3 separate regions of the Homo sapiens genome follow, and all the other regions are linked to region 3. The links are contacts of gene promoters, found by promoter capture Hi-C in blood cells and fetal thymus (Javierre and others, 2016). All regions are on one chromosome and are shown on one strand. Each heading gives the region's core, a stretch centred on a gene start or on the middle of the fragment in contact. The rest is flanking DNA. Distances are from core to core; before and after follow the strand shown. Region 1 holds the start of DCAF15 (DDB1 and CUL4 associated factor 15). Region 2 holds the start of CC2D1A (coiled-coil and C2 domain containing 1A). Region 3 holds the start of PRKACA (protein kinase cAMP-activated catalytic subunit alpha).

What was found. Contacts are between HindIII fragments. The CHiCAGO score rates a contact against its expected background, and 5 or more counts as called.
Region 1: the fragment with the promoter of DCAF15 here is called in contact with the fragment with the promoter of PRKACA in region 3 in 6 of 17 cell types (activated CD4 T cells, total CD8 T cells, naive CD8 T cells and 3 more); the score reaches 6.7 in activated CD4 T cells.
Region 2: the fragment with the promoter of CC2D1A here is called in contact with the fragment with the promoter of PRKACA in region 3 in 12 of 17 cell types (naive CD4 T cells, activated CD4 T cells, total CD8 T cells and 9 more); the score reaches 9.8 in naive CD4 T cells.

Annotation. Positions count from the first base shown.
Region 1 is chr19:13,951,192-13,953,914 of GRCh38, forward strand. DCAF15 (DDB1 and CUL4 associated factor 15) reads left to right here and starts at 1,318. Exons shown (of 13, transcript NM_138353.4): 1 at 1,318-1,453. The coding sequence starts at 1,322. It also overlaps a transcript of PODNL1 not described here. RefSeq lists an enhancer at 691-740 and a silencer at 1,401-1,540. The HindIII fragment of the contact is 10,644 bases long and covers 798-2,723 here.
Region 2 is chr19:13,904,874-13,907,752 of GRCh38, forward strand. CC2D1A (coiled-coil and C2 domain containing 1A) reads left to right here and starts at 1,328. Exons shown (of 29, transcript NM_017721.5): 1 at 1,328-1,628. The coding sequence starts at 1,569. BRME1 (break repair meiotic recombinase recruitment factor 1) reads right to left here and starts at 1,244. Exons shown (of 9, transcript NM_001345843.2): 1 at 842-1,244; 2 at 1-40. The coding sequence starts at 19. RefSeq lists a silencer at 1,643-1,702. The HindIII fragment of the contact is 3,878 bases long and covers 1-2,048 here.
Region 3 is chr19:14,116,494-14,119,313 of GRCh38, forward strand. It overlaps PRKACA (protein kinase cAMP-activated catalytic subunit alpha), which reads right to left and starts at 1,269. Exons shown (of 10, transcript NM_002730.4): 1 at 1,009-1,269. The coding sequence starts at 1,054. It overlaps LOC124904642 (a long non-coding RNA gene), which reads left to right and starts at 1,721. Exons shown (of 2, transcript XR_007067144.1): 1 at 1,721-2,698; 2 at 2,816-2,820. RefSeq lists silencers at 850-919, 1,330-1,889. The HindIII fragment of the contact is 7,542 bases long and covers 1-2,820 here.

The DNA of each region.
Region 1 (2,723 bases), core at 68-2,567, 170 kb before region 3:
TCCCAGCACTTTGGGAGGCCAAGACGGGATGATCCCTTGAGGTCAGGAGTTTTCGAGCAGCCTGGGCAACATAGTGAGACCCCATCTCTACAAAAAAAATTTTTTTAATGAAGACAATAAAAAAAAACTATCTTCTAGATTGTTCAGAGGATTAAATGGGCTGGCCAGGGGTGGGGGCTCACACCTGTCCTCCCAACACTTTGGGAAGCAGAGGTGGGAGGATCACTTGAGCCCAGGTGTTGGAGACCAGCCTGGACAACTTGGTGAAACTCCGTCCCTACAAAAAATACAAAAAATTAGGCCGGGCGCGGTGGCTTATGCCCGTAATTCCAGCACTTTGGGAGGCCTAGGCGGGCGGATCACCTGAGGTCAGGAGTTCGCAACCAGCCTGGCCAACATAGTGAAACCTCGTCTCTACTAAAAATACAAAAAATTAGGCAGGCGTGGTGGCGCACGCCTGTAGTCCTAGCTACATGAGAGGCTGAGGTGAGAGGATCATCTGAGCCCGGGGTCGAGGCTGCAGTGAACCGTGATCACGCCACTGCACTCCAGCCTGGGTGACAAAGTGAGACTCTGTCTAAAAAAATAAAATAAATGAGGTAATGTATACGAATATGATGCACGGAGCGGACCTTCAACAATTATTTTTATTGCTATGATCTGCATAATTGGCACAACAGGGCCCTGCCACATCGAACTGTTTAAGCTCAGAACCGTGTCTGTCACATGTGGAGCGATCCATGATTGATGCTATCATTATCACCACCATCATCCCACCAACCCGCCCATCGGAAACAAGCTTTCATCGAATCCCATCGTTTTTTCCTTTTTTGTAAATCTCTTTCCTCGGCCTGGCTCTGCCGCCCAAGTATGCTCGTCAGGCCTTTGCCCACCTGGACCGGGCGCGGGCAGCCCGGGGCTGAGGATTCTCGAGCCTTGGTGGACCACAGGCTCCCGTCGCCCCGCCCAAGGGCCTGGACCGCCTGTGGTCTCCATGGAAACCCGCCAGCCACAGGGGGCGTGACGCCGTTGAGACAGACAGAGATATTCACCTATCAGATCAAAGTTATCTGGGCAGGGCGAACAAACGGGACCTCCGAGTGGTACGTCCTTAAGGCGGGGCGGGAATACGGCAACGGGCCGCGGGGGCTGTTACTGTCGCTACCAATCAAGAGTCGAGATGGCTTTGATGGACAGGCATAGCGCGAGTGCGGGCTTTCGCCCAACCGGCGGGCCGCTGTCCCGAAAAAGGACCAATGAGGAGGCGGCAGGGGTGGGGCGAAGGGGCCGGTTGCTCCGGAAGTGGAGGGAGGGGGTGAAAATGGCGCCCAGCTCGAAATCGGAGCGGAACAGCGGGGCTGGGAGCGGCGGCGGCGGCCCCGGGGGAGCCGGAGGGAAGCGGGCAGCAGGGCGGCGGCGGGAGCACGTCCTCAAGCAGCTGGAGCGGGTCAAGGTGAGGCCTGGAGCCGGAGTGGGGAGCGCGCCGGAGGGTGGGGAGTAGGGACGAGGGAGGCGGAGGGAGGAGGGCGTTCGCGGGGTGAGGGGTTGGGGGCGGGGCCCCAGGGGAGGGGGCTCGGATGCAGGGCCTGGGCGGGGCCCGGGGGAGATGGCTTGGATGGAGGGGGCTCAGTTGGGGGCCTGGATGCAGGTGGTTGTGTCGGGTGACCGGCAAAGGGGCTGGGATGGAGGGGGTTGGGGGCGGGGCCCCAGGGAGGGGGCTCGGAGGGAGGCGACCCCAGAGGCCGCAGGGAGAATCAGGAGGAAGGGGGCGATCCAGGCTTTTCAAAGCTCTGCTCCCATGGTTGCTCCATAATGGAACCTTCCCGCCCCCTTTGCAGAGCCCCTGCCGCTGGCTTTGGGCTTCCTCCGCCTGATGTTCCTCTCCCTGCCCAAGCCCCGACCACACATGAGCTGGGAGTTCCAGTACCTGGGTGGGCCTCCCCATTGAAAGTGTGGGAGCTCCCTGGATAGGGCTGAGTCTTCCCCCGCAGAGTGAGAGTTACCGAAGCAGGCTCTGTCTCCTCCATCAGACTGGAAACTCCCAGAGCTGGGGGATGATGTCTCTCTCCCCCATCAGTTTGGGAGCTCTGGAGGGCAGAAATGTGGATCTCTTGCAGGTGGGCAGTAACTGGGGCAAGGCTGTGTCTCTGTGGACAGGGACTGCGCCTTCTCCGTGAGGCTGGTAGCTTTGTAAGGGCAGTGCTGTGTCTCCCCCTTTTGACTGGGAGCTCCCTGGGCTGGGACAGTCTCCGCCCTTAGCCTGGGAGCTCCCTGGGCTTGGCTGTGGTTCCGCCCTTAGCTTGGAAGCTCCTTGGGCAGGGACTGTGTCTCCCCTGTCGGCCTGGGCCTGGCTGGCCAGGCTGTTTCCTCCGTCAGACTGAGACCTCCATGTGGACAGGGCTGTCTCCCATCAGACAGGGAGCTTCCCAGACAGGACTCTTCCCATCAGATTGGAATGTCTTGAAGGCAGAGTTGGGTAGCAAGACTGAGGCTGTTCGGATATCCCTGTGCCTGGCTTCTGCCTGTCAGTCCCCGCAGATCCTTCCGCGGTGAAGTTTTGGGGATGAGGGATTCCCTTGGATTCCGTTGGAAGGCGGTAGTTAATTGGGAAGGGGGCGTTGGGTCATTGGTTAGGCTCACCCTTCTATCTGCCTCGACTGGCCCCCAGCAGAGGCCAGAGCTGCCCCGGGGAGGAGGAGCCCCCTTGTTTGAAGGCTGGTGGG
Region 2 (2,879 bases), core at 78-2,577, 210 kb before region 3:
GCTTCTTCCTCTTAGTCATTTTATCTTCCCCTTGAGAAATCTGAAAACAAGCAAAATCTCTCATCATTATAAGCAGTCTCTGTCTCTGTTTATATCCAGTGGCTTTGGCTGAGAGCAGAGGTTACCCCTACCTCCACCTCAGCCCATTTGGCTGCCCCAGGGGTCAGATGGCTCCCACTGGGACACAGGATGGGACACAGAGTCACAGCCACTTTGGGCCATGGCCAGGTAGGAATTCAAACCTCCTCCAAACTGAAGATCTTATGCCCAGGACCTGAAAGACAAATGGGCCCTGGGGGGTCCTTATAGATAGCCCCGGGGACCCAGACTCTGGTCCCTAGGATGAAACAGCCTGTGTGAAGCCCCTCCCTCCAGACTGGGGTATCTGGGGGCCCTTCCAAGGACACTTGAGGACTCTCCAGGGGCCTCTGGAGACCAGCCTGGCCAATATGGTGAAACCCCCTCTCTATTAAAAACACAAAAATTAGCCTGGGCATCGTGACGCACACCTGTAATCCCAGCTACTTGGGAGGCTGAGACAGTAGAATTCCTTGAACCCATGAGGCAGAGGTTGCAGTGAGCCGAGATCGCTCTACTGCACTCCAGCCTGGGCGACAGAGCGAGACTCCGTCTCAAAAAAAAAAAAAAAAATTAGTCAGGTGCGGTGGCACACACCCGTAATCCCAGCTACTCAGGAGGCTGTGGTACAAGGCCAGGAGGCAGAGGTTGCAATGAGCCAAGATCGTGCCACTTTAAAGGGGACAGCTGGGTCCTTGGAGGGGAAAGAGCTGCCATAGGCCGGTTTCTCCCAGCCTTGGGGGCGAGGCAAACCAGAACGGACCTGGGCCACAGAAGTCGTTGAGGACCCTCTGTCCTTATCAGAAACGAGCTCTGCCTGGATCAGTTGGGAATAAGTCGCTTGAATTATCCGCGTTACTCTTTTTGGAAAAAATAAATGGCCAAATTGGCCCTCACAGAACGCTGGAGGCCTCGAGTCCGGAGGTGAAAGATGGAAAGGCCTGAGGGTGGGCGCTGTAGACCCCGCTCCCGGTGACAAGCCCCACACTGACACTACGCCGACCACCGAGAAGTGAGGACTCCACAGGCCGAGAGCCCACGTGAAGCCGGAGCCCGTCGGTGACTGACAGACGCTCTGAACCCCACAGATGTCGCCGCCCCTCACACCTGCGCGCGCTCTGCCTCTTTCCCGCGCCCCGCGAGGTCCCGCCCCGCGCATGAGCGACGCAAACACCGCCCTCGCAGCCCGCGACAGTCAGCACCGCCCCAGCCAGGCGCCTGCGCGCCCACGCACTACCTGCCGGGAGTTGTAGTTTCGGCTCGGCAGACCCGGCGAGCCCAGTGGCCGCGCTCCGGTGCGGCGGCGCCCGAGGCCCGAGGCGGAAGTGGGACGGCCAAGCAGGGAAGCGAGGGCTCGGGATCGACGGCCGCGGGGCGCCGACGAGGAGTGCAGGACTCAGGAAGGGCGAGTGCGCGGCGACAGAGCCCGGGGAAGGAGGCAGGGCAAGGCCGGGCTTGGGGGCAGGTGGTCCGGGCATCCAGCCTTGAAGATGCACAAGAGGAAAGGACCCCCGGGACCCCCGGGCAGAGGCGCCGCGGCCGCCCGCCAGGTGAGTTTGCGCCCCACGGCCCGACCTGGGGATCCCTCCCCACCCCCGTCACTCGCTCAGGGAAGGGCCCCACCCCCCAGGGAAGCCCGATCTCCGCCCCACAGGTAAGCCCCGGTCCCCGCCTCCCCCCAGGTGAGGCTCCAACACCACCCAAGTGTGGCCTACTGGCCTTGGCTCCCCAGCTCCTGGGGCCCTGCCCCGGGTTCGGGGCCACCTGTTGCCACAGCTGCTCCAGTCGAGGAGGGGCAGTCCTCGGACTTGACACATCAAACCCTTGCATCAGTCGGGCCATGTCAGACTCTTTTTATTCCATTGTACAGATGAGGACTTTGAGACTCAGAGACGTGAAGACATCTGCCCAAGGTCATAGGGATTAACAGCTTGGCCAGGGCTAAGCACAAATCCAGGGCTGCAGCCATAAGCTTATGGCACTGTGGCTGGACCCCTTCTCACTCTCCCGACTTCTTTGCCCCAGGCACCAGATAGTTTGATTTTTCTCAGTTTTGATGGAAGGAGCCCAGGACATAGCTTGGTGTTCAGATATTAGAGTCTGGCTGACCTGAAGTTCCCTCCTGGCCTCTGTACATCGGACACTTGACTTTACAGCTCTGAGCCTCAGCTTTCTCATCTGTAAAATGGAGATCTCTATAATCCCAGCACTTCAGGAGATGGAGGCGGAGGCAGAGGTGGGAGAGTCATTTGAGGCCAGAGTTTGAGACCAGCCTGGGCAAAAGCAAGACCCCCGTCTCGACAAAAAAAGACTAACTGGGCATGGTGGCATGTGCCTGTAGTACTACTACTTGGGAGGCTAAGAAGGGAGGATTGCTTGAGCCCAGGAGTTCAAGACCGCAGTGAGCTATGATTGCGCTACTTCTGCTCCAGCCTGGGTGACAGAACAAGACTCTTTCTCTAAAATAAAGATAAAAAATTAAAAATGGAAGTCCGGGGTGGTGTCTCACACCTGTAATCCCAGCACTTTGGGAGGCCATGGCGAAACCCCATCTCTACTAAAAATACAAAAATTAGCTGGGCATGGTGGCGGGCACCTGTAATCCCAGCTACTCGGGAGGCTGAGGTGGGAGAATCGCTTGAACCGAGAGGCGGAGGTTGCAGTGAGCTGAGATCGCGCCACTGCATTCCAGACTGGGTGACAGAGCAAGGCTCCTTCTCAAAATAAATAAATAAATTCCTTCTGAAAATAAATAAATAAATAAAAAATTAAAAATGGAGACCTCCAAGAGACCCTACATT
Region 3 (2,820 bases), core at 19-2,518:
TGAACCTCGCTAAACCCAGACACTTTTCATCCCAAGCCAGGAGTGGTGGAAGAAGCCCCAGGGACTGGGTGAATGACGGAGCCTCAGTTGTGAAACGACCATTTATTGAGGGGCCCTCCATGGAGCCTAGAGCTCACTGCAAGACAGGAAATGAGAGGGGGCTCTGCCACCACCCCCTTACCCCAACGCAGGAAAGAGGATGCAATGAATCCCAACAAGACCAGCTCAAACTTGGCTTTGGAAGCACTGAAGCAATTCTCTACGTTCATAAACAGTCTGCTACCCCAGCCAGGGACAGACGCTTGCTTGGAGGACGGAGCACAAGCAGAGCAGCAGAATGACAGAGTGACAGGATGAGAGAGGCAGAGGGACCCAGAAAGATCCTGTCCCCCATGCCAAGTGACACAGAAGAAAAAAATAATGCTGGAGGTGGCTCTGGGAAATGTTCAGGGGGCAGGATGGGTTTGGAAGGGGGGGCTGTGCTAAGGTGAAGAGGGAAAGGGCAGGAGAAAGATGGCGGGGGCTGGAGGGGGGAGGGGTGTGGTCAGCAAGTGGCCAAGGTCCCTGCGCGGTGGAGGCAGACAGACCTCATCGCATTCCCAAACTGGTAGAAACCTGGGTCGGGGTCAGGCAGAGGATCCCATAGGTGAGAGAGGTGAGTGAGGAAGTGGGGGGATTAGAATCTGGGAAGAGGGGCCAGGAAAGGAGGGGGTAGGCTGGTGACAGGGGCCCATGTGGGGCCCCAGCGGTCATACGTGCCATGGTTGGCAGTGACAGCTGGGGGGGAGCACGGTCTTTGCAGCATGGGGCGGCCCTAGGGGAAGGGGACCCCTACAGGGGGTACTCTGCGGGCCCGCGGGCCCCAGCCTTGGACAGGCCGGGGCAAGGGGCGCTGGGGGGTAGGCAGAGAGGATGAGGGGCCCCGTAGGGGGAGGGGCCAGGCGATGATGGACAAGGCCAGGGCTGGCAGCGCAGGGCCAAGATCGGGGTCACAGCCCGGGCACTCACCGCTCTCCTGCTCGCTGCCCTTCTTGGCGGCGGCGGCGTTGCCCATCGCGGCGGCGGCGGCCGGGGCCGGTCCCGGAGCTGCGGCGCGGCGGGTGCTGGCTGCGGCCGGCGGCCCCGGAGCGCGCTGGGCGGCGGCGGCGGCGGCCCTCGGGCTGGCTGCGCTAGCTGCGGCGCCGCGACCCCCGCCCAGCCCCTGCTTCCCGCGTCTCTCCGCGCCCGCCCGCCCGGGAACCTCAGCCCAAGATCTCTGCCGCTGTCTGTGACGCCCCCGCAGCCCGCCGCTCATTGGCCTAGGCCGCCCTGACTGACGGCTCAGCGCCGCCTCCCATTGGCCCTCCCGCGACCTTCCCGCGCCACTATAGGCTCTCAGCCTCGGGACACGCACCGCGGACTCTCGGCCATTCACTCGCTCGCGAGGCCGCAGCTGGGCGGGCAGACGCGTCCGATTGGCCGAGACGCTGGACTGGGCCCGGGGTCCGCCCTGCGAGGCCGCCGATTGGCGGAGGTGCCGGGTCCGCCAAGCCCCCCAGCAGAACGCTCAGTGTCAATCCGGGGGTGAGAGGGCGGGGCGGAGACGCAGTCTGCGGGCCCGGGCCGGCGGGGCGGGGCGGCGGAGGCTGGCTGGCGGCCGCGCAGCGCTCCGAGGCTCAGGAGGCGGCCCCGGCGGGCGCCCGGCCGGCCCCGCGCGCGCCGCAGTCCCCCGCCCCCGCTCAGTGCGGCAGCGGCTGTCGGCCAGCCGGAGTTGGCGCCGCGGCCTGCCCGGCGCAGCCGCTGTCCACCTGCCAGCGGGGGAGGGGCGCGGCCGGCGCGCGGGTCAGAGGTCGCCCGGCCGCCGCCGGCGTCATTCATAAGGCCTGGCGCTGGGCGGCCGAGGCCAGGCCTGCTTGGGGGCCAGGCCGCGGGGCCTCCTGGGTTTTCCCAGCCGCACTCAGGAGGATGCCGGGCCCGGCGCAAGGGGTGGCTGGGAAGGGGCGCTCAGTGTCCACCCCTTTGCTGGGCCCTAGCCCTGGGCTCCTGCCAGTAGTAAGAGCTGGCACCCACTTAACGCTCCTTCGCACCACACTCCCATCGCGTAGGTGCTACCATCATCACTCCCATTGCACAGATGAGGAATCTGGGGTACAGCCAGGCAGATTCCCTGCTCCTGTTCCCCGTCTGTATTTCCTGTCTGGGCAATGCGAAGGGAACCTGCCCCTTCCTTCAGGATCCTCTTTCAGTACACACTTAGCAGAGGACAGTCGGGGTTTCCCAACTGCGACACTACTGACGGTGAGGCTGGATCATTTTCTGCTGGGGGGTGTCTTGTGCACCACTGGGTGTTGAGCAACATCCCCCGCCTCTACCCACTGGATGCCAGTAGCCCCTCCTCTATCTTCCTGCTGGCTGTGGCAACCGCTGTCTCCTGACATTGGTGAATGTGCTCTTGCGGGGCCGAACTGCTCCTGATTGAGAAGCACTTAAGAGAGGGTCAGGGGAGGGGAGAAGCCAGGTCACCCCGACTCGGAAGGGCTAGCTGGGCTTAACTACAAGCCGATCTGCTGCTTCGACTTGAATAGCCTCCACCTTCTCCAGCTGCTGTCTGCCCCCATGTTCCCAGATCAACCACAGTTCCAGGGAGGGAGAGTCAGAGCCTTTCTGTGAACTATGGGGAAATGGCTGACCACTCCGCCTCTGGATGGATAGATACATGGTAAGGTTTAGTAAAATTTAATAAAAGCATTGCTGTTTGTGTGTTGGGATCACGATGTTAATTTCCTGTGGGTCAAGGGCAAAGTCTGAAAAATCACTCATTATAATCTATCTGCAGGACAG